Linked DNA regions of Homo sapiens: all the other regions are linked to region 1. The links are contacts of gene promoters, found by promoter capture Hi-C in blood cells and fetal thymus (Javierre and others, 2016). All regions are on one chromosome and are shown on one strand. Each heading gives the region's core, a stretch centred on a gene start or on the middle of the fragment in contact. The rest is flanking DNA. Distances are from core to core; before and after follow the strand shown. Region 1 holds the start of TPPP2 (tubulin polymerization promoting protein family member 2). Region 2 has its middle 20 kb from the start of RNASE10. Region 3 overlaps LOC124903282 (a long non-coding RNA gene). Region 4 overlaps OR6S1 (olfactory receptor family 6 subfamily S member 1). Region 5 overlaps LOC107984671 (a long non-coding RNA gene). Region 6 has its middle 4.4 kb from the start of TRT-TGT3-1.

Region 1 (4,264 bases), core at 431-2,930:
GGGTGATGTTTGGTAGGGTAGATTGGGGCCTAGTTAGTTGTATAGGTCCTTGAATGCTAAGCAAAAAGATTTAGCAATGAGAAGCTATAGTATATCTTGAGCCACAGAATATTCTTGAGCAGGAGTAATAAAAAATACTGTTTTGTGAAAATTAATCTGATGGGGAGGAGGTAATAGAGATGGATTATGGGTGGGTGGGAGTGAAGAATTAGATTTAGAAAAGAGATCATTTAGAAACCAGAGTAGTCATCCAACTATGAGATGATAAGAACTTGAATAAGGGTGGAAGCAATAGGAATGGAAAGAAAGGCATAGATTTGTAAGACAAAGAAAAAAAATAGAAAGTGGTGGCATTATTAGATGGGAAAAGGAGGAAAGTCACCAGTCTCGTTGCTCTGTTTTAGGATCCGTGAGGTTCATCTATCTGTAGTGCTTCTGGCCAGAGAAAAGGCCGAAGAGAGAAAACCCTGAGGAACATCTTTGACCTGCATAGAAACTTATCTGAAGATTTTCAGAATCTGAGCCTCACCCTCAGTCTATCCCAGTTTTATCCTGACCTGTCCACATCTGTTATACTCCAAGGCTTGCTGGGCCCAACACTGGAAGCTATTTAATGTTTCTATTGCGACTGGCCTTTTAAAGCCAGTGGGATTCTCCATGCTACACTTGAGCCTGGAGACTAGAAAACATGACAGCCTGTTTTCATTAATCCGTTTTCATTAACTGCTGTGGTCTGAATGTTTATGTTGTCCACAGATTCATATATTAAAATCCTAACTCCCGGCTGGACGCAGTGGGTCACACCTGTAATCCCAGCACTTTGGGAGGCTGAGGCAGGTGGATCACTTGAGGTCAGGAGTTCGAAACCAGCCTGGCCAACATGGCAAAACCCCGTCTCTACTAAAAATGCAAAAATTAGCCAGGCATAGTGGCTGGGCTAATCCCAGCTACTGGGGAGGCTGAGGCATGAGAGTCGCTTGAATCCTGGGACTGGAGGTTGCAGTGCCCCAGGATCATGCCACTGCATTTCAGCCTGGGCAACAGACAGCGAGACTCCATCTCAAAATAAATACGCAAATAAATAAAATAAAATCCTAACTCCCAAAGTCATGGTATTAGGAGATGGGGCATTTTGGGGGGTGATTAAGTTTTATGAGGGCAGAGCCTTTCTGAATGGGATTCATACCCTTATAAATAGGCCCAAGGGAACTCATTCACCCCTTCTACCATGTGAGGACACAGCAAGAAGGTGCCATCTATGGACCGGAAAGCAGCCCTCACCAAACACTGAATCTGCCAGCACCTTGATCTTAGACTTCTCAGCCTTCAGAGCTCTGAGAAATAAATGTCTGTTGTTTATAAGCCACCCAGTTTGATATTTTGTTCTAGCAGCCCAAACAGACTACAACACCTTCCCTGGGCTCGCCTCAGCTTCTGTTGTGGGGCAGAGCATAAGGCAATTTGACTAGGACCCAGAGGATGGGTAAGCTTGGCTGAAATGATGGAAATGTGATCATCTGAAAAGGTCAGAAAGTTGGCAGTTTGCTCAATTCGGCATGCAAGGTAGGGAGACCAAAAGCCCCCTCCTTTGAAGGCAATGGCTGTAGCTGGGGCCAGAAGTGATGTCACATAACCACTGCTGAGGTCATAGAATCTTCCCTCTCCTCCCTCTGTCTCCTCATTGCCACAGCCAACCGGCTCCCACATATCTGCACACACTTAAATACAAAGGCCGGGAAGGGTCAGACCACCATCCGGGTACTCTAAGGTACATAAAAGAGGTAGGGGAAAGAGAGGATCATTCAGTAGGTAGGATCCACACTGGTATCTCCAATGCTGGGAATGGGAGACTCATGCTGTAGTTGCGTAGGTGCAATGGGAGCTGGGAGGGAGAAAGGAGAGAGCAACAGGGAAGAGGGGAGCTGTTCCTGTTGCTGACTGATTTTACCATAACACTCATCCTCATTACTCCACAGTCCTCCCTCCCCCTTCTCCTTCACCCCCAAGTGTCTCCCACGACTGCCCTCCCCGACCTCTAGCTGACCATGGCATCAGAGGCAGAAAAAACATTCCATCGGTTTGCTGCGTTTGGAGAATCATCAAGCAGTGGCACTGAAATGAACAACAAGAACTTCTCCAAGCTGTGCAAAGACTGTGGCATCATGGATGGCAAGACAGTCACCTCCACGGACGTGGACATCGTGTTCAGCAAAGTCAAGTGAGGAGCCAAAAATATGGAGGTGGGGGTGAGAAGAACCTGCGAGGTAGTTGGCCACGGAAGGGTTCACGTGGTGGAACATTTGCAGTGGGCCTACCAAGCACCACAGGGTACCTGGCGCTGTGCTATCCTTTGTCTTCGAGACACTCACTGATTGATAGGACAAAAGAGGCCAAATCTGAGTGAGGCAAGAGTTGGACCTTGGAAGGTAATGCATTCATGCTCCAAAGTTTCTGGATTTCTGTCTAACTGACCAGGGCCAAGAACGCCCGAACCATCACGTTTCAACAGTTCAAAGAGGCAGTGAAGGAACTGGGCCAGAAGCGCTTCAAAGGGAAGAGTCCAGATGAAGTCCTGGAGAACATTTATGGACTCATGGAGGGCAAAGACCCAGCCACCACTGGCGCTACTGTGAGTGACAGCCTTCATCCCCTTGACCCTACTTCCCTAAATCCCCATTGTTCCAGTCTACCCTCCCTAACCCTGCCAACTGTGTGACTGTAGAGACAGGGCCGAAACAGACTTTAGAGATCATCTAGACATTCCAGAAGTCAGGAAAATGTGGCCCAGAGAAGGGAAGTGACTTGCCCAAGGTCCATGGCTATTTTAATAGTAGATTTAGACTAATTTCCAAGTGTCTAGTATCTGAGCCAGGCAATTAGGGCTTGGTAGCTTTTGGAGGACATTAGTGTAGAGAATTTGGTACCTGATGCCCACTCCTCTTCCAATTCTTATTTAGGGTTTAATCTCAGGCCTCCTGCCTCTCACCTACTCCCTTTTTTAATTGTCCTGTCTGAACTAAAAGCTCTTTCTACAGTGGATATTGAGTCGGGGAGTGGGAGTGAAGTCCTCAGGCAGCAGCCTAGTCAGAATAACTCCTCTGGAAACAAAAAACCTACCCTCCCTCTGCACACGCCACACTCATTCCCACACCACACTCCTCCTCCCCCATGAGTGAACGGCTCTTACCAGAGTACCTGCCCACAGCTGTATCTGGGCCCTAAGAAAGCAGCACCCCATGCCAGTGGCAGAGCAAGAGCTCCAAGCACTTGTTCTAAGTATCTCGGGCCATCTTTGGGGAAGGGATATGACAGCGTAAGGAAAGGAAGAGAGCTCAAATCCATCCCTGGCTTGCAGAAAGCAACAACAGTGGGTGCAGTGGACCGTTTGACAGACACCAGCAAGTACACCGGCACCCACAAGGAGCGCTTTGATGAGAGTGGCAAGGGCAAGGGCATTGCGGGACGGGAAGAGATGACTGACAACACAGGCTATGTGAGTGGTTACAAGGGTTCTGGCACCTACGATAAGAAGACCAAGTAGAGAGGAGCTTCATCTCAGCCTGCTAGCCCCCTGACCCTGCATGTTTAACACCAGGGAGCTTGGAAAACAATAAACATCTGTGTGTGCAGCAGCCAAAATCTCTGTCTGTGAGGGACAGATGAGCCTACTAGTGTAGAGAGAGGGAGAAGAGGCAGCACAGGAGGGTGGGTTCTCCACCACACACCCTTCGCTCTGCTTAGCCTTATGCCTACCAGCCATCAGTTAGCATTCCTCCTCAACAGCTGCTTCCAAGAACAGGATGGAAGAATATATTTGGAGTAAAGAGATGAACCAGATGTGGAGGTAAAAGTATCTACTACTTGTGTTCACACATTACTGATATCCACCTCTCCACCCCCACCCCTCAAAAGGGTGTAGCAATTCCTCACGTGATGGACTATGACTATATCACATATTAGATCCTTCCCTGTCCCTCCACCTTCCTCATCTGTTGCAATTCAGGTTTTTTGGGTGGAGGAGTAGAAGCCAGCTAAGGTTGCCTGACTTCTATTACAAATTTGTTCCAGAGCTGGGGTAAGGGGAGAGTCTATTTTCAACACCCAGCCCAGAACTAAGTTTTACCCCACATCACCTCCATCATGGGGCACATGGGACAGAAGAGCTTACTGACTGCTAAGGGTAGCTCAGGAAGATGGCCAGATGAGGCAGGCTGCCAGGATTCCAAGAGCAGGAGTTCTGGTGCACTGAAGAAAAAGCAATTAA
Region 2 (4,602 bases), core at 1,249-3,748, 500 kb before region 1:
GTTTCTTGTTTTATTCAATGAGTTATAAGTTGTCCCAGATTAGCCAGTGGAAGCTATTTTAATAGGGCTTCTGTGTGTTTTTGATGTATCCCTATTCTTTCTCCTCCTCCTCCTCCTCCTCTTCTTCTTCTTCTTCTTCTTCCTCTTCTTCTTCCTCTTCCTCCTCTTTTTCTTCTTCTTTCTCTCTTCTTCTTCTTTTCTTTGCTCTGTTGTCCAAGCTGGAGTGCAGGGGTGTGATCATGGCTCACTGCTTTCAAACTCCTGGGCTCAAGCAATGCTCCTACCTCAACCTCCTGAGTAGCTGAGACTACAGGTGTGCATGACCATGCCCAGCTAATGTTTGTTCTTTTCTTTCTTTCTTTCTTTCTTTCTTTCTTTCTTTCTTTCTTTCTTTCTTTCTTTCTTTCTTTCTTTCTTCCTTCCTTCCTTTCTTTCTTTCTCTTTCTTTCTTCTTTCTTTCTTTTTCATTTTTTGTAGAGATAGTGTCTCACTATGTTGCACAGGCCGGTCTCTGAACTCCTGGGCTCAAGGGGTCCTCCTGCCTCGGCCTCCCAAAGTTCTGAGATTACAGGCATGAGCCACCATGCCCAGCCTCCCCATCATTATTTAGGCAGTTCCTTGCTTTTAGAAACTACAAGATGGTCCAAGCTCATTTTATATTTTCCTTCCCCTGGAACCAGTCATTTTTCTAAGATGACCTGGTTGTGTTTAGTGACGAACAGTATTTTGAAACCTGGATCTGGGTGCTAGGTAGGTGCTCATTGCTGTTGGGGTGAGAGAGCTCTAAGGCTGTCTCAGTGGACATAGGTGGGAATATGGCAAATAGCCAATCACACTCACACTCACATGTATTTGCATGTATTTTCTCTTTTTTCTTTCTTTCGTTTTTTTAATTTTTGCTTACAAACCTTTTTTATTTCTCTTATTTTTGAGAAAATCTGATCCTACTGAACTTTGCATGAAGATTTCAAATCTATATGCAAATACGCATAGGCATTATTGTTTTGCATATGGAAAAATGAGGGCTCAAGTCATAGAAATATATGATGGCAGATCAGTGAGGAAATCCTGGGCTATTTTCTAACATGATAGAATAGGGTTTCAGACCTCTTGAATTCAGCAAGGATGTAATTTACAAGTAACTACTCCCTTGAAAATCAGAGTGACCACACTTGTAGTGAAATTCATTCCTGTGGTGCTTGCTGGATTCCATTCTGGTGCTGGAAGCTGGACTGGAGACTGACCATGTTCCTTCAGGTATCCTCAGCAGTGTACAAGGGAAGCTCCTTTCTGAGGGAACCATGCTTGCATGTAGACCTTCACAGTAGTGCAACATAACTTCTCAGAGATCAACATGCCACCATTCAGTGAACTTGGGAATTTCAAGAGGAGGCTAAGTGTCAGCACAGCGTCTACTGAAGTGCAATGCCTGCTTCTTAGGGAAGGCAACAACTCACTAGAAGCAGGCCCTTCAGATCCACAGGTGGATGAAATGAGGATTATTACTCAGCCAAAAAGGACCGGTTGAGTGGCTGGAAGGTCCAATGGCTCATCATCCTCTTGTTTAATAGCAACATATGGGATTTCCTGTCCCTGGGGGTGTGGCAGAGCAGAGTACCCAAAGTACAAGTGGTGACCTGGCCACTGATGTGCAGTTTTCCATAGATCTCATTAAATCTGGCCACAAGGGCAGGCATATCCTTCACTTTTCCTTCACTTTTGCCAGCACTTCCTCTGAGAATGCATGTCTTTTCACAAATTTTAATAAATTTCCTTCTGCAGCATTTTTTTAGTGTCTCTATCAGGGTTTCCAACATATTTGACTGGATATGGATTATAATAGTTAAGTTAGTGCAGGCTATGCTTTCTGGATTCATGGTTTGAGAAAAAAATGGACATAGCTTTTGCCACTTGGTTCTGATTCAGAGCTAACGCCACAAAGAAACGGGATGCTCTCCTGGAGGGAACCTCTCCTTTGAGTGGGGCTTCTTCTGTTAATGCAGAACAGATTTTGAAAGACTCAGCGCTCTTCAGTTTGTTGCAAACTGCAAAACTAAGAACATAGGATATTTGGTGAATTTCACAGCTTGATTTTTCATCTCTATCAATACTTCCAAAGCACTTTTATATTTGCCTTTGATAAATAACATATCCATCAAAATATTGAATGATGTGGAATCTGAGAAGGAATCTCATAAATGCTGGTCTTTCATGAGCCCCTCAAGATCCAACCCATAACAGACTCATGAAAAGTGGTCCAAACCTATACTCCCCCAAAGTGATATTTCTGTTCCCTGCATGGTACCTGTAAATGACATTTGTAGCCAGCTCCACATGGTCCTGGGACCCACAAAAATAAAGTAAGGTTATCAACTCCCCCTTCAAGATGAGCTTGTCAGTTTCTCTTCCAAATTCCTAAAATAGGTTTCTTTAGGAAAGATTACATGCAACAGCCACCTTCTTGTGCTGAAATTCTTTTAATTTCACAATACTATCTGTAAGTAGGTATCTGTTAGCTCTGAAAGGACAGCAGCCACAGGCAAAGCTGGAGGCTCCCACCCCAGGATACACCGAAATCTGCAGCAACCTGCAGGAGAACTCGATTCGAGGGCCTAAGTGCAGCACATGTATTTTCTTTATGTAACATGTAAGTTCTCACATGTATTTTCTTTATGTAACTATATTGAAAACCATACGTTTATACCAATACCTCAATTCAAATCCAACCCCACAAGCTCATATTAGGTTTTCTCTTCCCATATTTATATCTTAATTTTCTTATTTATAACTTTTTGACTTATAAATTTCTTCTCCCATATTCTTTAATATAGTTGCTTATTGCATGCATCTTCATGTATGTAACCAATCTCACCTTGCTGCCGCCATTCCCCCTCCCATATGGATGCCCTTTGCCCACTCTGGCTCTGACACTCTGTGCCAGGGCTGCCCCTCTACATGGGTGTCCACCATTTGGGCCTGGATATCTCACACTAGGCAACCCCTCTGAGTGGACATCTCCTCCACTTGCTCAGGCTGTGATTCTGCAGGCTGTGTTCCCCTCTCAGCCCCCTCAGACATCCCTCACCAGGGACACCTTTTCATCTCTCTTGGGTTCTGAGTTCTTATTCCTGTGCCAGATGGCCCCTCCTCATCAATGTCTATGACCTTGTTCTGCCCCACCTGGTGGCTTTAGGACTAAATGGTTTAGAAAGGGAAGGTTAGGGAAAGAGGACTTATATCTTTTGAAAATTCTATTATATAATAGAATTTTCCATATTGTTGAGTAGTCATTAAAAAGTTTTACTCGATATATTTTATTCTATTAATGTAATGTGATTTATTTAAGTATTCCCTCTTTTGTCACATTAAGGTGATTTCCAATCGTAAGTAATTTGGGCTGGGCATGGTAGCTCATGCCTATAATCCAGCACTTTGGGAGGCTGAGGCAGGTGTATCATGAGGTCAGGAGTTCAAGACCAGCCTGGCCAACATGGTGACACCCTGTCTCTACTAAAAATACAAAAATTACCTGGGCATGGTGGTGGGCGCCTGTAATCCCAGCTACTTGGGAGCTGAGGCAGGAGAATTCCTTGAACCTGGGAGGCAGAGGTTGCAGTGAGCTGAGATCGTGCCACTGCACTCCAGCTTGGGTGACAGAGGAAGACTCCATCTCAAATAAATAAATAAATAATTTGCAGGCTGTTTTCCCTCAAACGAATTCCCTCTAATGGTGTCCTCTACTAGGAAAGGTGTCCTGTACTCACTAATCCATCAAAGGTCTATTGACTTTACAACATATTAAGGTTTAGCTCAACTCCACCTCCCTCCCCTCTTCCTAATATAGCTATATTTCAGTTCTCTTGTTTACCTTTCTAACTTAATACTATGCTAATCATTTTAGTATCTTTTTCAGATAGGCACTGGGTATTCTGAGTTCCTATTTTGTAAAATAAGAATATTAGTATCCTTCTTTTCATTCACTCTCTTTTCGTCTGTGTCCCAGCTTCAGTCAACTGTACTTTACTTTTACATTGCCTTGATTGTTAATATTAATATTTAATTCTGTAACCAAAATTAAGACTTAAGTTCATTGACTGTAAAAGCTGAAAATTGATACAAAATATTTATATTCTTTCTTTCTTTATTTATTTTTGAGACAGGGTTTCACTCTGTCATCCAGGCTGGAGTACAGTAGTGAGATCTCAGCTCACTGCAACCTCTACTTCCCCAGCTCAAGTGATCCTCTCACCTCATCCTCCCAAGTAGCTGGGACTATAGTCATGTGCCACCACTCCAGGCTATTTTTTGTATTTTTCTGTGGAGACATGGTTTCGCCATGTTGCCCACACTGGTCAAACTCCTGCGCTCAAGCGATCCTCCCCGCTCAGCCTCTCAAAGTGCTGGGATTACAGATGTGAGCCACTGTGCCCAACCTATATTATTTTATTTTTAGTTTTTAATTTTTTTGTGTACATATTTAGTCTTATTGTAACAAAGCAACTTGTGCACTTTTAACGTTTAAAACTGAGCATCATCTTTTCTTTCCAGTGAAACGAAAACAAAATTTAAAAATAAACAGGAACAAAATTACAATCGAGAATG
Region 3 (4,396 bases), core at 1,188-3,687, 320 kb before region 1:
CGGTTATAATGAAGAGTTTTCCAGGATCTGGATTCTGAAGCGTTATATTAATGCCAGGCCATTTTTAAAAAATATTACCTTAAGTTACCAAGGTCCTGATTTTCCCATGAACAGTTTTTCATATACGTTTGTAAATGTATCTAATCAGTCCCCTGCAGGGGTGATACTCACTAAAGTAGCCCAGAAGTGCTAGAGATGGGTAGCAATCCACATACCCAGCAAGCATCTTAGTGTAGACTATCTGCATAATGTTATGCCCACTGTAGAAATAGACTAGTTTTAGCAGATGTCAAAAAAGTTTACTCATTATGATAAAGAATAACAGAAATTTAATCCTATAGTACAAAAAGATTTTTCTTAAGCAGTAGCTTCAGTTCTCCAGTTGGCTCACAAGTCCAACCAGGTTGATTGTCTGCTGTGTCAGGTTGGGGAGGGGCGATTTTTACCGAAATGTGATGTATGCGTGGTTTGACTCCAGCCAGCTTAACAGATGAATGAGTAGTTAATAAAACATCATAATGACCTGTCCACTTTTTGGCTGGCTGTTGTTGGTCCAGTCCTTGTTTTTACCAAGATTTTAGCGGCACTTTATCCTTGGATGAAAAGGGTGAAGGGGCTTTTTTGTAAGACACATAAAACTGGAAAGAACAAAAAGAACAAACTTGTGCAGGGTTAGTGATTTATGTCTTAGTTGTTGTACATATTGTTTAATTCTTGATTAATTTATTAAGTCCAAGGGTGGGGTCCCTGGCCAAGAACTTCAGAAGGGTCTCCCACACACAATTTCAAAAAGGCTTAATTTAAGCCCACTTCAGGGTGCTACCCCAATCCATAGCAGGGCAATAGGTAAAACCCTTTACCATTTTAAATCTGTTTCCCGATAGAGTTTTGCCAGGGGTTTTTTTTGGTTTTTTTGTTTGTTTGTTTTGTTTTGTTTTTGTTTTTGTTTTTGTTTTTTAGCATGTGGATCATCTTTTCAGTCTTTCCAGTTGATTGTGGCCTCCAACAAGAGTGTCATTTCCATTTGATCTGTAATGCTTGGCTTATCCTTTGTGTGATCTCAGAAATTAAAGAAGGATTATTGTTGCTTGGTATGGAGTAAGGAAGTCCAAATCGAGGAATGATTTCTTTTAGCAGAGCCTTAGCTACTTCTGCAGCTTTCTCAGACTTGTTCGGATAGGCTTCAATCTCTTGCTCGGGTAAGCTTCAACCTTTCCAGAAAATGTGTCTACAAACACTAGTAGGTACTTATAAATCCCAGTGTTTTTGGCATCTGGGTGAAATCAACCTGCCAGTCCTCGAATGGTCATATTCCTTTGTATTGTATCCTCCTCTGGGAAGAGTTGCATGCAGTTCTTGAATCATTTGGGGTATATAGATAACATGCTTGTATAATCTTTTGAATGATCTTTTGAAGGTGTGGCCCTTTGAGATATGGCTACACCAGGTGAGCCAGTCCATCTCTGCCATAGTGTGTCCCCTCATGCAGGTCTTTCAGGACTGGGTATACCAGGGCCTCAGAGAGTAATATCCCATGAGTGTTAGCTTTCCATGAGGAACAAGGGTCTGTGTTGGTCAATGTCCACTCATGTGTGCATTCTTCATTTCATTCAGTGTAGTGGAGTTTAAATTCTGACAAGTTTAAATGGAGTATTAAGGTCCCAAGTAAATATGTTTCTTGAGTGGCCTGCTTTGCAGCTTTATCAGCCACTTGATTCCCTTTGGTTATTGGGGAGTCATCCTTTTGGTGGCCTTGGCAGTGCATAATAGCAACTTGAGTTGGCAGAACAACTGCCTCTGACAAAGCTAAAATTTCCAGCAGGTGTTTAATGTCTTTATTTCTTGAGGTTAAGAATCCCCTTTCTTTCTGAATGACCCCACGGGCATACACTACCAAGAAGGCATACTTGGAGTAGGTGTAAATGTTTACCCATTTCTCTTGAGACTGTTTTAAGGCCCTGATGAGAGCAATCCATTCAGCTTTTTGTGCTGAAGTACCAGCAGCGGGGACATAGGCTTCTACTACTTTGTCTAGGGTCACTGGAGCATACCTGGCCTGGCGTTGTCCTCCTTCTGTGAAACTGCTTCAGTCAGTGTATAGCTCCCAGTCCGGAGTGGCCATCAGATGATCTGACAGATCTGGTCTGCTGGAATAGACTGCATCAAGAATTTCTAAACAATTATGCTCCAGTTCATAGTTGGACTCAGTGGCTGGGAGCAAGGTGGCAGGATTCAAGACTGTGGTGGTTTGGAGAAAACATTTCTGTTATCTAATAGGCTGGCTTGGTATTTGCCCATATGCCCCGCTATCATCCAGTAACCTCCCTTTTGTTACAATAAGGTTAACACTTGATAAGGCACAAATGCAGTAATGGGCTGTCCTAGGGTGAATTTTTCTGCTTCCTGTAAGATATCACACGTAGCTGCCACGGCCTGAAGACAAGGTGGCCATCCTCTGGTAATCTGCTCCAGTTGTTTGGGAAAGTAGGCTATGGGTTGTGGGGAATTCCCACGTAGTTGAATTAGTATTTCCTGTCCTGTGCCCTGGTTTTCATGGATATAGAGTCTAAATAGCTTTCAAGAATTGGGCAGTCCTAATGCTGGAGCTGACACTATTTTTTTTTTTTTTTTTGATGGTATCAAATGCCTGAAGGCATTCAGCCATCCAGTTTAGGGCTCCTGAATCTAATCCCTTTAGAGCCTTGTAGAGAGGTTTGACTATGAGTCCAAAATTAGGGATTCAGATTCAGCAGAAACCTGCCACACCTAAAACCCCCCACAGTGTCTTCCATTCCCAGGGGCCTTTATTGCTGCTATCACCTGTTTCTGGTTGGACATCAAGCTCTGCTTTCCTTGTTTTTAGTCAGAAGCCAAGATAGGTCACTTCTTGTTTACAAATCTGAGTTTTCTGAGGTGATATGTTACGTCCGTATTATATCAAATAATTTAAGATTAAGATAGTGTTAGATAGGCACCTCTCATAGTCTTGGCTTGCGATTAACAAGTCATCCAAGTATTTTAGCAGAACCCCATCATCTAGTTGAAAATCTCTGAAGCCCTTTGCCAATATTTTGCCAAAGATGGTGGGTGAGTTTTTAAAACCTTAAGAAAATACAGCCTAACAATATTGGAAGGTGTTTTTTGTTTCCAGGTCTTGCCACTCAAAGGTGAACAGCATCTGGTCCCTCTCTTCAATCAGGATGCAAAAAAAAAAAAAAAAAAAAAAGTATCTTTTAAGTCTAATACCGAAAACTACCCATACTGCCCTGGTTTATCAGTTAGTAAGGTGTAAAGGATGGGCATAGTTGGGTGAATGTCTTGAACAATGTCATTAATGGTTCCCAAATCTTGTACAAATCAATATTCATTTGAGTGTGGGTTTTTAACAGTCAGGATAGGGGCATTGTATGGAGATCTGTAAGGACATATTTGTCCATTTTTTAGAAACTTCTGTAATATAGGTTGTATCCCCTCTAAAGCCTCTCTTTTTAGAGGGCACTGTGTTTGGGGAATACCTTAGCCCCTTCATTTATTTCTGTGCACACAGGCTGTGTATTTTCAGCACTACCTGTGGTCCCATCTGCCCTCATGACTACTTACTTGCTCACAGATTGCTGGCAGGAGGCATTCTTTTTCTTCCTCGGGGTGTGTGAGCAGCATCTGCAGCTGCAAAGCTTGCTCTGGCAGGACCTGCAGATGAAGTTGTTGTTTTTCTGGAGAAAAACGTCACATGGCAATTTAGTTTACAAAGCAAATCTCACTCCAGCAAAGGAATTTGGTATTCCAGCATATAGAGGAAACTGTGTCTCAGCTCCAGATCTCTGTGTCCGGCAGTCTCCAGACTCTCCAGGGTCTGGAGAAAGGCTGTTTGCTGCATCTTGCCAGCGACAACCATCACAGGCACTGTTTTCCTAGTACTTTCAGTTTCTTTAGTGTTTCTACCTGAATAAGTCACACCAGTATTGATTAAAAAGTCAATCAATTTGTTCCCCATTGTCAATCGTACCTGAGGTTCCTGTGGGGAAATTACAACCTGCTCCAAAAGATTTGGGCCTCCTTCACTATCTGAGCTACAGTCCTGCTTTACCATCAGCCAGTATGTTTCTTCTCTGTCACTGTGTCTCCCTTCTTCTGGTTTCCCTGTCTTTTCTTTAATTTGGGGCACTCAGATTTCCAATGACCTTCCTCCTTGCAGGGGGCAGACTGATCATTACCTAGAGTTTTGTTCTGGCCACCTCCCTGTGCCTGGTTTTTCCTTTTCGGATATACATTCTTTCCACTAATTCCAAGTATATCATGGCTTGCTTTAGCTTTTTGGCCTTCCTGGCATTATATACTCTGAAGGCAATGTCCAGCAGTTGGGAAAGGTTTATTCCAAATACCCCCTCCAGTTTCT
Region 4 (4,247 bases), core at 312-2,811, 390 kb before region 1:
AGATGGAGGTGGGTGGATCACTTGAGGCCAGGAGTTAGAGACCAGCCTGGCCAACATGGTGAAACCCTGTCTCTACTAACCAGCTATGGTGGTGCATGCCTGTAATCCCAGCTACTCGCGAGGCTGAGGCAGGAGAATCATTTGAATCCAGGAGGCAGAGGTTACAGTGAGCCAAGAACGTGCCACTGCACTCCTGCCTGGGTGTCAGAGTGAGACTCCGGCTCAAAAAAACAAAAATAAAGTGGTACATATACACCATGGAATACTACTCAGCCATAAAAAGAAACAAAATAATGGCATTGGATGGAGTTGGAGACCATTATTGTAAGTGAAATAACTCAGGAATGGAAAACCAAATATTGTATGTTCTCACTTACAAGTGAGAGCTAAGCTATGAGGATGCAAAGGCATAAGGAGGAAATAATGGACTTTGGGAACTTGGGGAAATGGTGGGAGGGCACTAAAAGATAAAAGACTCCATATTGCCTACAGTATACACTGCTCGGGTGATGGGTGCACCAAAATCTCAGAAATCACCGCTAAAGAACTTCATGTAACCAAAAACTACCTGTTCCCCCAAAACAATTGAAATAAAATAAATAAATAACAAAGAACACATTGACTATTTCAAATAAGAGGACAAGATCAGTTGTGCCAAACTCTGCTGAGGTAAGTATAAAGAGTAACATATGCTTGCTGAGTTTAGCATCATTGTCATTATCAATGATGTCATTAAGAGCTTCATTTATTTATTTAATTTTTGAGACCAGGTCTCACCCTTTGGCCCAGGCTGGAGTGCAGTGATGCGATCTTGGCTGACTGTAGCCTCGAAATCCCAGGCTCAAACAATCCCCCTTGTTGGCTTCCCAGCATGCTGGGATTGTAGGCGTGAGCCACTGCACCTGGCCTTATTCAGAGTTTTATATGTAAAATGATGCAAACAGAAGCATTTTCTACTTCTTCTAAATTAAGTATATTCTGTCTTAACTGTATGTTTAAAAACAAAATACAAATTTCATGTCAATGAAGGTAAGATCTTTGAAAGGAAAGCTTAGAAATAAATATCAATAAACAGATTTTTATTTATTCTTTTATTTAATCACAAACTTTCATGGACACACAAGTTTGTATCACTGTTATATGCATGCACACATTCACATGCGCACTCAATCTACACATACCATCATACCAAAATTTCAGGCAAATTTATTTCATATAATAGTATGAATAAAGACGCTTGTCATGGTACCTTTATAGAAATTCGAAGCCAGGCGCGGTGGCTCACGCTTGTAATCCCAGCACTTTGGGGAGGGTGAGGCTAGCAGATCACCTGAGGTCGGGAGTTCCAGACCAGCCTGACCAACAAGGATAAACCCCGTCTCTGCTAAAAATACAAAATTAGCTGGGTGTGGTGGCACGTGCCTATAATCCCAGCTACTCGGGAGGCTGAGGCAGGAGAATCGCTTGAACCCGGGAGGCAGAGGTTGCAGTGAGCTGAGATCACGCCATTGGTTTCCAGCCCGGACAACAGAGTAAGACTCCATCTCAAAAACAGAAAAAAAATTATATATTTATATATTCATATGTATTATGTCTACCCCAAAAGTCTATGAATTCCTTGATGGCAGGGGCCAATATTTGTACCTCTAACATACCAACTTACTTCCTAGAACACAGTATTCAACAAATTTTATTGAATTAAATTGAGCCCAAAGTTATTTTTCACAATGAAACACATGTTGAAAATGGATGGTTTAACATGCTTTATTGCCATAATATGTGGCAATTACTTCAAGAAATGCTGTAAATTGTTGCATGAATTCCTTTCCTTGGCCAGTGGCTGGAATAGACTTCAGATTTTTATGTTTCATGAAACTAGGTAATTTTTAAGGCGATATTTCATCTCCTCTCTGGGCAACACTTCTAGATCACTCCAGAAGAGTTATTTTTACCTTCGAATCATTCTTTCCATTCCTTTAGTACTCAGAAATATTTTGGAATAAAATTATCTAGTGTGTTTGCATGCATTATGAATAGAACTAGATAAAAACATTTCTATTTTCCATGCCCACTGAAGCTTATGGCTAACTCTTTTGACGCTAATACGCACTTTGCCAGTTTTGCAGCACTATTTTGAGTTTAGTATGCTGTCGATACCTTGATATTTACATGTTTTGTACATCGTTCCTATGTACACACACTCTAACGTGACAAATCCTGTTTAATGAATGATGACCTCTGTGAAAATTTCTCTAACAAGAAAATGCACTGGGAAGAGTAAACCAATTTTTATAAGATCTCCAATGTCCTTTTGTAAATCTCCTTCTCATCCACATTTCCTTAAATTATTATCCGTCCCTTAGTTCTAAACTCTAAAGTTCAAGCTGCTTGAGGTTAGAAACAATTTATTCTTGTTCATCTTTGTATATATTCATATATCACAGTGTTCAACAAAGATTCTTCACAGACCTTTGCTGAATGAATGAATGAATAAATAAATAAATAAATAAATAAATAAATAAATAAATATTTGTTTCCAAGATTTCCAAAGGGATTTCCATGAATAGGAATCCCTTTTCAAATGTCCAATAAACTAGACAAAATTTACTACAAAGTTTGGTTCTTGGTAGATACAACAATATTTGGCATTTGGCATTCTTTTTTTTTTTTTTTTTAGATGGAGTTTTGCTCTTTCGCCCAGGCTGGAGTGAAGTGGCACGATCTTGGCTCGCTGCAAACCTCCGCCCCCTGGGTTCAGTGATTCTCCTGCCTCCTTATATAATGCCTCCTTATATAATGAAATTATATGAAATTACCCTTTTTGGTAGCTGGGATTAAAGGCGCCCGCCACCACGCCCGGCTAATTTTTGTGTTTTTGTAGAGGCGGGGTTTCGCCATGTTGGCCAGACTGGTCTAGGAACTCCTGACCTCAGGTGATCAGCCTGTCTCGGCCTTCCAAAGGGCTAGGATTACAGGCGTGAGCCACCGTGTCCAGCCTATGTGGCATTCTTAACTCTTTAATATTAAAGCTCCTTATTTTACTAAAAACAAAAGAAGATTTCACACAACAGATACAAGAATGTAAAAAGATGAACAAATGAATGAAACATAATCCAATGACAAAACGAGTGGAGATGTCTTTATCAATGTACTAAAGTGCACACTAGAAGAATACAGTAAATGCTATTACTCATGAAATCCCTCACTGATCTGCTTTCCCAACAGCACCTGGAATTACCACAGAGAAGTAATTAAGTCCCTTTATTAAATTTGCTTCACCTCTTTTTCCTCTAGCATTAAATGTAAATTTTTCTAACAAGCATGTACAAAAATATACAGATAATCTATTTTTATTTCATTTTATATCTATAAGGAATTTTTTCTTAAAATTCTTGACTTGCATAAACAGTTGGAAGGCTCTACTTAGACTTGCAATCAGTTTTTAGCTTTTGAGGAGAGTGCACGAATGGATTCAAATGTTGAATTAAAGCTACAGTCCCTCTTCTCAGACAAATGCATATATATTCAAGCACATAAAATTTAGATACCTATTGGGCATATAAATTTTCTGAAACCCATCCTTAGATTCCCTACATGACCATGGACCCATAGGTTAAGACTCACAGGTTGGAAGGTCTTAGGAAGTGGCGATGATATTGATCACGATATATCAATAATAATAATAAGTATTATTATTATTAGGTATGATCTAGGATCAAGAAATTTTGCCTGAAAGAGAAGAAGGTGGATTGATGACCTGAGAATTCATTAGTAGTTCCAGAATTCAGTCTTTTGGTGATATCCATAATGAAGACGGAAAGGAGCATGATAATGAGAATATTTGGATTTTAAAATATGATTTTTAAAAATGACAACAAGACCAGGTGTGGTGGCTCACACCTGTAATCCCAGCACTTCGGGAGGCTGAGGTGGGTGGATCACTTGATGCCAGGAGTTTGAGACTAGCCTGGTCATCGAGTGAAACCCCATCTCTACTAAAAATACAAAAATTAGCCAGGTGTGGTGGTGGGCACATGTAATCCCAGCTACTCAGGAGGCTGAGGCAGGAGAATTGCTTAAACCCAGGAGGTGGAGGTTGCAGTGAGCTGAGATCGCGCCACTGCACTCCAGCCTGGGCGACAGAGTGAGACTTTCTCTCTCTCTCTCTCAAAAAAAAAAAAAAAAAAAAAAAAAAAAGACTAGTTACTAGACTCTTCACTTTTACTTTACTGCTTTCTCACTGAGAC
Region 5 (4,136 bases), core at 403-2,902, 270 kb before region 1:
ACACCTTGTCTCAAAAAGCAAGAACAACCAGGCACGGTGCCTCACACCTGTAATCCCAGCACTTTGGGAGGCCAAGACAGGTAGATCACTGAAGGTCAGGAGTTCAAGACCAGCCTGGCCAACATGGTGAAACCTGTCTCTACTAAAAATACAAAAAATTAGCTGGGAGTGGTGACGTGTGCCTGTAATCCCAGCTACTCGGGAGGCTGAGACAGGAGAATCGCTTGAACCCAGGAGGCGGAGGTTGCAGTGAGCTGAGATTGCGCCACTGCACTCCAGCATGGGTGAAAGAGCGAGACTCCATCTCAAAACAAAACTTGATGGAGTCCTGCTATACTATGTAGATGACTTACTTATAGATAGCCTCAAGCAGGAAAAATGTTTGTCTAACACCATCCTAGTTCTAAACCACCTGGCCCAGGGTGGATACAAAGTGTCTGTTTACAAATCTGTAAACAAAAAGTAAACTTATCTCAGATTCAGGTTAAAGAAAGGCAAGAGGAGCCATCAAAGCTCCTGAAAATAGGAGACAACTTCAAGTATTCTTAGGCATGGCTGGCTTCTGTTGGATTTGGAGTTCTAGTTTTGGACTGATGACTAAGCCCCTTCATGAAACCCTAAAGGGATTAGACTCTGAGCCCCTGCCTTGGACGGCCAAGTGCCAACACAGATTTAATATCATCAAGGAAAAGCTAGTATCAGCCCCAGTGTTGGGATTGCCAGAATCCCAAAGGCCATTCAAACTCTACATTTATAAGAAACAAGGCATAGGTCAGTCTAGGTGTGCTAATCCAGAAGCTGAAGACACCCCACAGCCAATACACTATTTTTCTAAACAATTGAATCAAATGACTAAGGGTGGACCCTTGCCTTCAAGCATTGGCAGTCACTTGTGAAGTCCTACAGAAAGCAGAAAAGTTTACCCTGGGACAGCAGGTCACTCTCTTTGTGCCCCATCAGGTGTTGACTTTGCTAGAACAAAAGGGAGTTTACTGGCTCACTGTGGGGTGAATGGGGAAATACCAAGCCATCCTCTTGGATGACTCAGATATCACCTTGCAAACCTCCAGGCTCTAAACTCTTCCTCACTGCTCCCAGCTACTGAATCTGATTCCAGGTTAGAGTATTACATTTTAGAAATTGTTCATGCAGTCTATTCCAGCAGGCAGGACCTGTCAGACCAGCCATTGGATGCCCCAGATTGAGAACTGTAACCTAGGGGAGCAGTTTCATGGAAGATAGACAACACAGAGCTGGGTATGTCATGGTGACCACCAACAGGGTAATACAAGCCCATGCCCTTATCTCCACACAAAGGGCTGAGTTAATTGCTCTTACCAGAGCTTTAAACTGTCCCAGGGGAAGCAAGAAAACATTTACACTGATTCCAGCTACGCTTTCATGAAAGGACATGCTCATGGAGCCATCTGGGAAGAAAGAGGCCTCTTGACATCAGGAGACAAGGACATTAAGCACCCAGTGGAAATTCTGGCCTTATTAGAAGCAGTTGCCTTGCCTGCCCACACCTCCGTTATGCACTGCCCCGGACACAAGAAAGATAATTTGCAAACAACAGGTCAGGCGCAGGTGGCTCATGCCTGTAATCCCAGTATTTTGGAAGACTGAGGTGGGTGGATCACCTGAGGTCAGGAATTCGAGATGAGCCTGGCTAACATGGTGAAACCCCATCTCTACTAAAAAATACCAAAAAAATTATCCAGGCATGGTGGCGGGTGCCTGTAATCCCAACTACTCAGGAGGCTGAGGCAGGAGAATCACTTGAACCTGGGAGGCAGAGGTTGCAGTGAGCCAAGATCGAACCATTGAACTCCAGCCTGGGCGACAAGAGCAAAACTCTGTCTAAAAAAAAAATTTGCAAACAACCAAAGGCCATCAGGCAGCCAATAAGACTGCAAAACAGGCTGCTTGGGAAGCAAAAACACTGGAGGCCTTAATATCCCATTTGAACTTATCAGACTTCAAACCTCATTACACTGAACAACATAAAAAATGCACCAGGGCCTGGAGTTTGATAAAACAGATTCTAATTCTCTCTGGGAAACGAATGGTTACAGGATGATCTTACTCCCTGAGGCCTTAGTTTACCCAATTTTAAGCATCTGCACGAAGGGACACGCTATGGGAGAGAGGCTCTCGCTGACCTAGCGCATTACAAACGGTGGCTTCTCTTCAAAATAAAACAGACTGCTGGGTCTGTGGGAACTACTCCTTTCCTGCACTGCATGCTTGCCATGGTGCTTACAAGCCGCCAACCTGAGCAATTGGAGTCATTTATATACCTGGTATAGGAGTTCATACCCATTCCCCTTCTATGATCATAGCACCTCCCACAGTGGGTTCCCCTCCTACCAGGAAACTCAGAGACACCTTATTTGCCTATTCTATTAATAGATTAACAGTACCCCCACCTTGGGATATGCTGTATGTGATGGCATGGGATGTCTGACCGCAGTACAAATACAAGTAATGGGTCAAGCACACCATAGCCCACCATATGGGATGGTTACATCCTCAACAATGTAGCCAATCTCTCCAGCTAACTGATGGTATGTGGCTAGGATAGCAGAATAATGCCCATCTTCATACTGGGGCCCATCCCTCCACGTGGGGTTGGCTATGGGCCTGCGGCACTCATGGTTGCATTACTTACCTTATAATGGAACCAGGAGATGCAACTGGGGGCACCCTTACCGGGACATATCCTGTCCCATCTGGATCCTCTCCCTGCCAATTGGGAAAGCATAAAAGCCAGATATTGTCATCAGAAATGGACACCCTTGTGGTTTTACCCCCCAGGAGGCGGCCATAGATGTAAAATTACAAGTAGAGGCCGTAGCTAAGCATATGGCTGCTGCCTTTAATAACACTCACTCTGCCATCACCTTTCTCCCTGAAGAAACCTCACAGATTAGACAGCCTTAAAGAACTGTATGGCCTTAGATATCCTGCCTGCAGCCCAAGGTGGCACATGTGCATTAACTAAGACTGAGTCTTGCGTGTATGTGTGTGTGTGTGTGTGTGTATCAGATTATTCCCACAGTGTAACCCTAGCTATGAAGGCCTTAAATATTTCCACCATAGATGCCTCATCCTAAGGCCTTGTGATGGCACGCTTTAGTCAACTCCCTAGTGCATGGAAGACTTATACATCGCTTAATTGGCATTCTACTCAGTGTCTTCTTCAGCTGCTATGGATTTTATTGCTATTGTGCTGTCTGTATGGGGATGCAAGACAGACTTCTCAGCAGCTCTTAGTTCCCCACACCAAAATGCTCCAGCAAGTTCCCACTGTCAATCTGGGAATTCAAGAATATTTCCAACTCCAGGTAAGCAGATTCCATCCCATTACCTCCTAATTATGCCTCTTTTCAGCAGGAAGTAGCCAGATCGCCTGCATTGACCACTTCCCATAGAAATGGATGGGATTTGACAGTAGGGAGCTGTAACCAAGTAACTGAACTTCAAAAATGCATTTCAGGCCAGGCACGGTGCTCAGGCCTGTAATCCTTGCACTCTGGGAGGCCTACGCAGGTGGATCACCTGAGGTCAAGAGTTCAAGGCCCGCTTGACCAACATGTGAAACCTCATCTCTACTAAAAATACAAAAATTAGCCGGGCGTGGTGGCAGGGCACCTGTAATCCCAGCTACTTGGGAGGCTGAGGCAGGAGAATCACTTGAATCCAGGAGGTGGAGGTTGTAGTGAGCCAAGATCGTGCCACTGCACTCTAACCTGGGCAACAGAGCAAAAACTCGCCTCAAAAAAAAAAAAAAGAAAAAGAAAAAAAAGAAAGAAAGAAAATGCATTTTAAAACTTTTTTCTTTTTTTCTCTCTTTTTTTTAGTCTCAAGATATAACCTTGAAGCAAACTGCAGAAATTTTTTCCCCTCCTCAGTCTTAATATATAGCTTTGAAACATACCAAGAGTCTTTGTTCCCCCGCCATTTCCCACCGTACACTCCCTTACGTCACATACATTTATCTGACTGTAGGCTTGTATCTAAATATGTGCTTACTTAGAAGTTCTAGGGACTAATTTTGAGACAGATTACAGGCATGGAAACCCAGCTGCAAAATTCCAGAGATTACCTCAAAGCAGTTAGTCAACAACCCGGCC
Region 6 (4,405 bases), core at 332-2,831, 410 kb before region 1:
GTTCTCACTCCTCTATCAGTACAAATAAACCTTTGACCAATTGACCCTATCCACATTCAGCCCACTTCCTACCATCAAAGGTTGTCCCAGGACCTTATGTTACATTCTCATTCTTCCAGGCCCTTACTCCACAATTCACTCGAGTTGGCGTGTCTGACGCTACGAAACTCCAAAAGCCCCTTCTACTAGTTTATTAGACTTAGCATCAGCAAACCTGGTTGTGCTCCAGTGTGTTCTGGCCCATCCTGAGCACTTCCTCTGCTGAGCAACTTGACCCCTAGTTGTAATCTTAGCAATATTTTTAATTGCTTTTTTTGTTGTTTGTCTGTATTTCTTCCATTTCCCCTCAACTTTTCATTTGGAAAAACTTTAATCCTAATGTGGAAATAAATGAACACCAGTTAATGAGAACCAGCAAAAGCTATTCAGAGCTTTCTATAGCAAAGGAGTTAGCAGCCTTCACTTGTGATTTTTTAAAAATATAATTTCCATATTATTTTTCTCTAGAGAGAGTTTTTCTTCAATCCTTAAGGACTCACCTTCTTATATGGGCTTTGGTAGGGGTCATGTGGCAGCACCCATAGGTCTGAATCAGGGTGGCGGTGTTCGGTCCTTGCAAGCTTCACAAGATTAATTCCTGTCTACCTTGCTGTGAATGACACAACTCCCACCGTAACAGAATTTCACGAACAACTTGGGAAGCCCATAGGCGTCAAAGATACTAGCTTCAGAAATGTCCCTGACAGGTGCAGTCTCTACTACGTTTTGAATGATGAACTTCTTAATAGTCTTGCCTTTGGGTAGGCATAGGGCATAATTCATGTAGCAAATAGGCTGCACGTGGCTGTGGCCCTTTTTGGCATGACCATTGTTATTTCTTTTCTTTGCCATCTTGGAAGTGGGGACCCAAAAGAACGTCACTTGTGATTTGGCAGAGACTCAAAGGCAAGCAGAGGAGTGGGAAAACTTTATAGTGGACAAAGGGAAGCCTTCAAGTGTGCCCTGACTGGAGACTGTGGCATGGGGACACGGTGGGCAGGCTAACTAGAAGCGGGGCATCCTATGTGATTGGTTAGGGATGCATATTTGGCTTTCTCTGGTTGATGCTAACTTGGAAACAGAAACAAATAATAGGAAAGGTGTTAATTATTCATAAATTCCTAGCCACTGGGTCTGGTTTTTACAGAGGTTATTGTTTGGCTTCCTGGGCTGGTTGCTTAGAGATAGTGGTCTGACTTCCTAAAAGTCTGGCTTAAAGGCAATGGACTGGCCGGGCGCTGTGGTTCACGCCTGTAATCCCAGCACTCTGGGAGGCTGAGGCAGGCGGATCACCTGAGGGTCAGGAGTTCGAGACCAGCGTGACCAAAATGGTGAAACCCTGTCTCTACTAAAAATACAAAATTAGCCTGGCGTGGTGGTGCATACCTGTAATCCCAGCTACTCAGGAGGCTGAGGCAAGAGGATTGCTTGAACCCAGGAGGCAGAGATAGCCAGTGATAGGCGGTGAGCCAAGATAGTGCCATTGCACTCCAGCCTGGGCAACAAGAGTGAAAATCCGTCTCAAAAAAATAAATAAATAAAAGAGAGAGAGAGATAATGGGCTGGCTTCCTGTGCTGGTCACTGTGGGTTGACTTCCTGCACTGGCTGTTGTAGGTTAGTGCTGGTCAGAGGTCTATTTTTATATATGTTCTGGCCACTGTCTGTTTGTATAGTAATACCCTAGGGAAAAGTTAAAAAAACGGTACGGTAAAACCTGTATACCCTTTAACTAGAACACCCATTATTAGGAACATTTGCATCCTTCTTACCTACCCTTCCCCCTGTTTACATGTACTATCCAAGAGCAGAATATTAGTACCATAACACACCCAAGAAAATTTATAATTCCTTATATGCTAGTAGACATACAGTCCATATTCAGATTTCCCCACTTACCCACTCCCTATTAAAATAATGTAAATTCTAACAATATATCTCACTGCATTTAGTTGTAACATCTCTTTGGTCTCTTTTAATCTAGAAAATTCCCCTCCTCTTAGACTTTCTTTTCTCATGGCAGTTGTCTTACAGGAAGTCTCACATTCTGAATGTGATTATTTCCTCATATAAGATTCAGTTCAATATTTACTTATTTCCTCATGATTAGATTCAGCTTAAATATTTTTGTCAAGGACCCTACTACTAATTTTCCAGGATAGATTGTCTAGGGTCTAGGTAGGACTGAATTTCTAGTAAACCAAGCAGGAAGAATGAAGTCTAATGACTGATACTTATTTACATGACAGTGCACTATTTCAAGGAGCTTCTGTTCAGAAAAGGAAACTATTATGTCATCCTTTGGGGAAGACTTTGTAATTTTCAGCTTCATTGGCTATAGAATATTTTTAAAGGTCAGGAATTTATATCCCAGAAAAGTAGGCACAATTACCAGGACTCAACCAATTATTCACTGTAACAACATCCACGAACACCTATGACAGGCATACTGGTTTCCAAGATACATAGACTGTTTATCTCAGACATCAAGGAACGTGAGTTTGCAAAGCTTTAGCCACACACACACACACACACACACACACACACGTACTTGCCTCGATTTGTACTTTCTCAAAGTTTTCTTCAGATTTCCACAGACATCTTACCTTCTGGAAACTGAGGCTACACTCACTCTGGTGATTATCAGTTACCACTTGTATTGCCATCTAACTGTAGTGTGTGTCTCTGTGTGTTTGTTCATTCTTCTAGGTTTGTATTGTATATATTGTAAAAGGTGGAGAAGATATTTTCTTTTATTCAAATTCAAGTTCCCAATGAGCAAGGATAATATTCTTGTTTGTCTTCTGCTCCTCCCCAAACCTGATCAAATGATAAGCACAGATTTATTTGGTGGATGTGAAGTGGGCAAGATTCTATTTCCGAGACCCAAAAGGCTTCCTGGCACATGCACCCCACTGGCTTGCCTCAAATGTTTAAACCCATTATAAACACTCCTGTGTGTTCACTGAGAAGCTGACTGTGTTTTGAGCACTTGGTACACTATGGAATTAAAGTCAGGGACTAGGAAAAGCAGTAGAGGGAAATCAAAGAAGAAATTAAATTGTACATCAGACACGATCTTTTTAAACCCAAAGCACCAAGACTATTACAATATTTATGGGGACTGAGTAGGTGAAGGAGGACAATGATACCAGAAGGATGGACAGAAACAAAGAATAAAAAATGCCTCATATCCTTCCCCTTTCCATTCCTGTTGATCATACCATAGTTCAAAGATTGCATTTCTTTTCACCTGAAGCTTGCAGAGGTGATTGATTTCACTGGATTACTCCATGAAATCCCTCTGGTCCCATCTCTCCAATGAAGTTCAGTGAAAAGTGTAAAGACAAATACAAACTAGAAATAAGGGGCTTAAATCTCCCTGCTGAGTATAAGGAAATTTCCCTTCCCTCTTTTTACTTTGAGCATTTACTTTTGAAAACTTTTTTTTTTTTTTGAGACAGTCTTGCTCTGTCGCCCAGGCTGGAGTGCGGTGGTGTGATCTCAGCTCACTGCAACCTCTGCCTCGCGGGTTCAAGCGATTCTCCTGCCTCAGCCTCCCAAGTAGCTGGGATTACAGGTGTGTGCCACCACGCCTGGCTAAATTTTTTTGTATTTTTAGTAGAGACAGGTTTCACCATGTTGGTCAGGCTGGTCTCGAACTCCTGACCTCATGATTCGCCCTCCTCAGCCTCCCAAAGCGCTGGGATTACAGGCGTGAGCCACTGCATAGAAAACTTCTAAGTACAATCACAGTACTTTGCTTTACTGTGATGGTCAATGTGATAACCATATGAAACCATATCAGAGCTAAGTAAGTCGGGTTCAATAAATGCTGAAAGCATTGACTATCTGATGGAGTCATCAAAAATATTATTTAATTTAAATATAGTATTTAATTTTGAGCAAGATTTTACAGCACATAGAGGGGTCCTCAGGCCAATAGGGGGATGGCTTTTTTTTTTTTTTTTTTTTTTGAGACAGAGTTTCACTCTTATTGTCCAAGCTGGAGTGCAATGGCACGATCTCAGCTCACCACAACCTCCGCCTCCCAGGTTCAAGCAATGCTCCTGCCTCAGCCTCCCAAGTAGCTGAGATTACAGGCGCACAACACCACGCCCGGCTAATTTTTGTATGTTTAGTAGAGACGGGGTTTCACCATGTTGGTTAGGCTGGTCTTGAACTCCTGACCTCGTGATCCGCCCGCCTAGGCCTCCCAAAGTGCTGGGATTACAGGCATGAGCCACCATGCCCAGACTGGGGCATGGCTCTCTATTGGAGCTAGGAACAGAGCTTTACATTGCAATGTAGTGCGTGTCTTCTGCTGCAGACTGATCCAGAAAGATTCTGGTGGGAATTTTCAGATGC

Evidence for each region. The method cuts DNA at HindIII sites, captures the fragments that hold promoters and counts their contacts. A CHiCAGO score of 5 or more calls a contact.
Region 2: a contact is called between a fragment that was not itself captured here and the fragment with the promoter of TPPP2 in region 1, in 1 of 17 cell types (monocytes). The highest score is 5.7, in monocytes.
Region 3: a fragment that was not itself captured here is called in contact with the fragment with the promoter of TPPP2 in region 1 in 2 of 17 cell types (M1 macrophages and M0 macrophages); the score reaches 7.0 in M1 macrophages.
Region 4: a fragment that was not itself captured here is called in contact with the fragment with the promoter of TPPP2 in region 1 in 2 of 17 cell types (monocytes and M2 macrophages); the score reaches 6.1 in monocytes.
Region 5: a contact is called between a fragment that was not itself captured here and the fragment with the promoter of TPPP2 in region 1, in 2 of 17 cell types (M2 macrophages and M1 macrophages). The highest score is 7.3, in M2 macrophages.
Region 6: a contact is called between a fragment that was not itself captured here and the fragment with the promoter of TPPP2 in region 1, in 2 of 17 cell types (M2 macrophages and monocytes). The highest score is 7.0, in M2 macrophages.

What each region holds. Positions count from the first base shown.
Region 1 is chr14:21,028,537-21,032,800 of GRCh38, forward strand. It overlaps TPPP2 (tubulin polymerization promoting protein family member 2), which reads left to right and starts at 1,681. Exons shown (of 4, transcript NM_173846.5): 1 at 1,681-1,768; 2 at 1,977-2,218; 3 at 2,476-2,629; 4 at 3,356-4,264. The coding sequence starts at 2,046. The coding sequence ends at 3,541. It also overlaps a transcript of NDRG2 not described here. The HindIII fragment of the contact is 5,962 bases long and covers 1,487-4,264 here.
Region 2 is chr14:20,522,784-20,527,385 of GRCh38, forward strand. It overlaps the pseudogene PTCD2P1. Among named protein-coding and RNA genes, the nearest start is that of RNASE10, 20 kb to the left of the region's middle. RefSeq lists a silencer at 4,351-4,561. The HindIII fragment of the contact is 9,274 bases long and covers 1-4,602 here.
Region 3 is chr14:20,709,481-20,713,876 of GRCh38, forward strand. It overlaps LOC124903282 (a long non-coding RNA gene), which reads right to left. Exons shown (of 2, transcript XR_007064061.1): 1 at 3,601-4,396; 2 at 313-2,238. Among named protein-coding and RNA genes, the nearest start is that of EGILA, 4.7 kb to the left of the region's middle. The HindIII fragment of the contact is 2,470 bases long and covers 1,203-3,672 here.
Region 4 is chr14:20,636,475-20,640,721 of GRCh38, forward strand. OR6S1 (olfactory receptor family 6 subfamily S member 1) reads right to left here. Exons shown (of 1, transcript NM_001001968.1): 1 at 4,222-4,247. The coding sequence ends at 4,222. Among named protein-coding and RNA genes, the nearest start is that of OR6S1, 3.1 kb to the right of the region's middle. The HindIII fragment of the contact is 1,027 bases long and covers 1,049-2,075 here.
Region 5 is chr14:20,760,099-20,764,234 of GRCh38, forward strand. LOC107984671 (a long non-coding RNA gene) reads right to left here. Exons shown (of 3, transcript XR_001750624.2): 2 at 2,672-2,745. Among named protein-coding and RNA genes, the nearest start is that of EDDM3B, 6.2 kb to the right of the region's middle. The HindIII fragment of the contact is 5,387 bases long and covers 1-4,136 here.
Region 6 is chr14:20,616,101-20,620,505 of GRCh38, forward strand. It overlaps the pseudogene RPS26P9. Among named protein-coding and RNA genes, the nearest start is that of TRT-TGT3-1, 4.4 kb to the left of the region's middle. The HindIII fragment of the contact is 1,926 bases long and covers 619-2,544 here.